Regions from separate parts of the Homo sapiens genome. Here region 2 is linked to region 1. Evidence: promoter capture Hi-C in human tissues and cell types (Jung and others, 2019). All regions are on one chromosome and are shown on one strand. Each heading gives the region's core, a stretch centred on a gene start or on the middle of the fragment in contact. The rest is flanking DNA. Distances are from core to core; before and after follow the strand shown.

Evidence for each region. The method cuts DNA at HindIII sites, captures the fragments that hold promoters and counts their contacts. A contact is called where the count stands out against the background at its distance.
Region 2: a contact is called between a fragment that was not itself captured here and the fragment with the promoter of SLC30A5 in region 1, in 1 of the 25 tissues and cell types used here (lymphoblastoid cells).

What each region holds. Positions count from the first base shown.
Region 1 is chr5:69,092,736-69,095,281 of GRCh38, forward strand. SLC30A5 (solute carrier family 30 member 5) reads left to right here and starts at 1,279. Exons shown (of 16, transcript NM_022902.5): 1 at 1,279-1,603. The coding sequence starts at 1,521. RefSeq lists silencers at 992-1,101, 1,432-1,721, 1,767-2,061 and an enhancer at 1,202-1,301. The HindIII fragment of the contact is 15,344 bases long and covers 1-2,546 here.
Region 2 is chr5:69,291,792-69,294,337 of GRCh38, forward strand. It overlaps CCDC125 (coiled-coil domain containing 125), which reads right to left. Exons shown (of 12, transcript NM_176816.5): 10 at 397-571. Among named protein-coding and RNA genes, the nearest start is that of CCDC125, 40 kb to the right of the region's middle. The HindIII fragment of the contact is 3,532 bases long and covers 1-2,546 here.

The DNA of each region.
Region 1 (2,546 bases), core at 29-2,528:
ACAAAAAGCCACAAAAGCAGTCACCTTCCTCCGTTACTTTATTTGATAGATGACCCCAGGCTCCCTGTGGCAAAGAAGAATCCTTTCTTTTTCTTTCTTTTTTTTTTTTTTTCCAGAGACGGTCTTGCTCTGTTGCCCAGGCTGGAGCACAGTAGCATGATCATGCCTTATTGCAACCTTGACCTCCCACGTTCAAGCGATCCTTCCGCCTCTCCCTCCTGAGTGGCTGGGACCACAGGCATATGCCACGCCTGGCTAATTGTTTTTGTATTTTTGATAGAGACAGGGTTTTGCCATGTTGCCCAGGATAAGAATGTTTCTTTAGAAATCTGGAAATTGCCTTTAGGTTCCCTTAGGAGTAGGAGAGAAGGCCATGAAGTTTCGCACGTGGTCACTCCTAGAAAATTGCCCTGGGATAGTTTGCTGAGGAGGCAAATTTTGGTCAATACTAGTTTCTCCTCTCCAAAGTCCATCAAAGGCATTGTTCAAAAGAAATGGCCGTACCACTATTTGTAATTGATTCTCTACAGCTTCAAAAATAGTTATCTCTGGTTGGGGGAAGGGCACGTGAACTTTTAAGACTTCGGGCCTTCTCATCACAAAAATGATCCATACTCACAAAAACTTAGAGGCAGAGGGTATGTTAACCTAGATTAAGAATCTCTAGGCCGAGTGCGGTGGCTCACTCCTGTAATCGCAGCACTTTGGGAGGCCGAGGTGGGTGGATCACCTGAGGTCAGGAGTTCGAGACCAGCCTGACCAACATGGAGAAACCCCGTCTCTACTAAAAATACAAAATTAGCCAGGTGTGGTGGCACATGCCTGTAATCCCAGCTACTTGGGAGACTGAGGCAGGAGAATCGCTTGAACCTGGGAGGTGGAAGTTGCCGTGAGCCGAGATCGCGCCATTGCACTCCAGCCTGGGCAACAGGAGCGAAACTCCATCTCAAAACAAAAAAAAAAAGAATCCCTAACGCAGAGGAAAAGATTGGTGAGCTTTGTTTAATCACACACGCTGTACATTTTCCACGCCCTCCCCCTCTGCCCTACAGGAATCCGCTGTACTTCTGACGGCCCATAGGTGGCACTGTAGGGACAGGTAAGTGCACAGGGAGCGCCACCCGGAGAGGCTGATAGGAGGCGGAGCTTCAATGCGACACAACGTGGCGGGAGGAGCCTAAGGGACGAGGAAAGGCGAGTGTTCTGCTTGCGCAGACGCAAGGCTGGGCACTCCCCCGGGAGTGAGGGTTGCTGGGCCTGATGACGTGGCTTGGCAACGTCCCTACCGCCGCTGCTTCCCGGGAACCTGGCGCCGCCGGAACTGATCGCGGCCTAGTCCCGACGCGTGTGTGCTAGTGAGCCGGAGCCGGCGACGGCGGCAGTGGCGGCCCGGCCTGCAGGAGCCCGACGGGGTCTCTGCCATGGGGGAGTGACGCGCCTGCACCCGCTGTTCCGCGGCAGCGGCGAGACATGAGGAGACCCCGCGACAGGGGCAGCGGCGGCGGCTCGTGAGCCCCGGGATGGAGGAGAAATACGGCGGGGACGTGCTGGCCGGCCCCGGCGGCGGCGGCGGCCTTGGGCCGGTGGACGTACCCAGCGCTCGGTAAGGGACCGATCCGGAAGGCAGCGACCGGCCGGGTCGCTCAGGATGCACTTTCTCCGGCCTCCCTCCGGTCTCCGCTGACAGCCCGGGACGTCCCGGGGTCGGCGCGCCCTCTCCCCCTGCCTGCCTCCCTGCGCGCAGGCTGCCTCCGGGCTCCCCGGGCTCTTCGGGTGCCTGCTGCAGAAGGAAGGCGCTAAAGCCAAAAAGCTTCTGCTTGAATTTCTGGGTTACAAGGCAGACAGTCAGTCTTAGAACTGCCCGCCAGTTCACGTGAGAGGTTTTTCTGATCTGTGAGAAGCCTTTCTCTTGGCTGTTTCTCCCTGAAATAGTCTGGCGACTACTTAACCTTTCTGACGTTTCCCTGCATAAATTAGGGGAAGGTGTCACCATCAGCTCTCTTCAGGCGACGAAACCAAAGTACATACGTGAACTTGGATGTTCAGGGGAACTTGGATGTTCAGATTAACTGAGCACATCGAGGGTCCAGCCCCGTTTTCTTTTTTTATTTTGTTCTTAAATAAGAAATGTGTCCTCGTTGTCAAAAAAAAATCTAAACAGCAAAGCAATTCATAGAGTAAAAAGTGAAAATTCCCACTTCCTCTCTTCAATTCTCCCACCAACCCGAAAAGTAAGGGACCAACAGGTGCAGCGACCACTTTCTAGTGTATCCTTCCTAAGTTCTGAGATAGTGTCGAAAATGCACAAAATACAGCCCTGCAATTTGGCTGGAACTGGTGTTCTTTGCCTCCATTTTTAACGAGTTCTTCCCATTCTGGAATAAATACTTCTTTGATATTTAAAGAAAGTGATAAATGTGATAAATTCTTTAGAACTGTAGTAATAGCATTATAACGTAACTTTTTTTTTTTTTTTTTTTTTTGAGACGGAGTTTCGCTCTTGTTCCCAGGCTGGAGTGCAATGGCGCGATCTCGGCTCACGACAA
Region 2 (2,546 bases), core at 27-2,526, 200 kb after region 1:
ATTTCAATAAAGTTTAATTAGATAGATACATTTAATGTCATGTTTAAGTGACATTTTTCACATTACTTCCTTCTTGGCAGTTTCCTTTTAATCACCTAGCACTTTTATTGTAAAGTTTTTTCACTAAACATGGTCTTATTTAAATGAAACAGAAGAGTACTAGAAAATAAATATTCCTGTTATGTTATGGTTTATGGATTCCAGTAGTTCACCTGCACATGTAATATCCAATGACTCCTTTTTTTCCATAGTTGCTAAGTTTTTAAGTAAACCACAACCATATGTGAAGTTTCAATTATTTTTGCCCACATTGGATTAAGTGTGCTTCATCAACTTGGATTATAAACAAAACAACTAAAATTACACCCACTTATTGCCATTATAATTCATAGTTACCATCCTCTTTAAGGTGCTTCCAATTCATCCATTTTGTTGCTTTTTTATGCATTTTATCCATTTGTGTCAATTGTAGTGCCTGGTCATTTTTTCTCATTAATTGTTGCTCAAATGCAATTCTGAAAGCATCTGCCATCACGTAAGCTTCTTCTTTACTCTTCTGCAAAATTTCCAACTGATTTTGAAAGACAGTTTGGGAGGTGTCAGAGGCAAAACCAGAACAATTCTTGCTGAATGGGGAATCAAATTAACATATGCAATCTCACTGCCTAGCACTGGTTTATTGCCTGTGGTCTGATCTAGTTTATCTGATTACGCTAATTAATGCTTGCTATTTCTGCAGTAGCAACTTACTCTGATCCAGATTATCAGTTTCCCTTGTGGTGCCTGTCAACTGCCTGCTAACCTAACCCCTGGACCTCACTACCCCATGCAGGCCCTGTGTGTGTGTCCTGCTCAAGTCCTGGGACAAAGGGCCCAGCATGAAAGATAAGAGGATACCAAAGGCTGCATTTCAACTCAGCTTTGGGCCATTCCAGACCACACCACTGAAAATAATGATGAATACGACCTTTCAAATACGTCTTATAGATGACCTTGACTTTGATCAATGTAATCTCATGTTTTTCTTTTCTTCTATTTTTTTCTTCTTCTTCTTTTTTTTTTTTCTTTTGATGGAGTCTCGCTCTGTCGCCCAGGCTGGAGTGCAGTGTCGTGATCTCGGCTCACTGCAAGCTCCGCCTCCTGGGTTCAAGCAATTCTCCTGCCTCTGCCTCTCGAGTAGCTGGGACTATAGGCGCATGTTGCCACGCCTGGCTAATTTTTTGTATTTTAGTAGAGATGGGGTTTCACTGTGTTGCCCAGGCTGGTCTCGAACTCCTGAGCTCAGGTAATCCACCCGCCTCGGCCTCCCAAAGTGCTGGTTTACAGGCATGAGCCACTGCGCCCGGTCTTTCTTTTTGTTTTGGAGACAGGGTCTCTCACTCTGTCACCCAGGCTAGAGTGCAGTGATGTGAACACGGCTCACTGTAACTGTGACGTCTTAGGCTCAAGTGATTCTCCCACCTCAGCCTCCCAAAGTGCTGAGATTACAGGTGTAACCCATTGCCCCCTCATGCTTTTCTTAATGAATGGCTACTGTCCAAATGTTGGCTTTCCTATATACTTTAAAGATTTTATTTTGGCTGGGCTCAGTGGCTCACGCCTGTAATCCCAGCACTTTGGGGGGCCAAGGCGGGTGGATCACGAGGTCAGGAGTTCAAGACCAGCCTGGCCAACATAGTGAAACCCCGTCTCTACTAAAAATACAAAAATTAACTGGGAGTGGTGGCAGGCGCCTGTAATCCCAGCTACTCAGGAGCCTGAGGCAGAGAATCACTTGAACCAGGAGGTGGAGGTTGCAGTGAGCCGAGATTGCACCACTACATTCCAGCCTGGGCGACAGAGCAAGAATCCGTCTCAAAAAAAAAAAAAAACCCAAACACTTTAATTTTTTTAAATTTAATTTTGTCCTATTTTATTCTATTTTAAGTTCTAGGATACAGGTGCAGGATGCAGGTTTGTTACCTAGGTAAATGTGTGCCATGGTGGTTTGCCACACCTAAGGACTTTAAATTCCATACCTTCAATAAAGGTAAAACATTTTAGAATTATGGTCCATGTACTACTGTATTTGTAAGTAAAGACCAAATATAATGGCAGCTATCATTTGAATTAATGTCTGGCATGTTCATGGTGCTGTGCTAAACATTTTATGTCTATTTCCTCACAACAATCATCCAAGGTAGTTATTACCCTCCACTTAATATAGTAGGAAAACTAAGACCTACCCCGTCCAAAGCCACACAGCTAGTAAATGGTGGAGCAAAGATGCAAACCTAGGTCTGGCTGGGACAAAGGTTCCTTTCACTGTGCCTTGCTGCTGTTCAAATACATTCCATGCTTATCTCTCCATTAATCAGTGTTGCTGATCCTAGTGATTTTAAGCATAAATGTACATTTTCCTTCTATTATATAGTAATTTTAGGGACATGTATAGATGAGAACATATAAATTTTAGGAATATTAATTATGAACTTAGGCAAATGACTTTAGGTAGCTTCAAATATCATGCCAAGTACTTTTTTTTTTTTTCTTGGAGATGGAGTTTC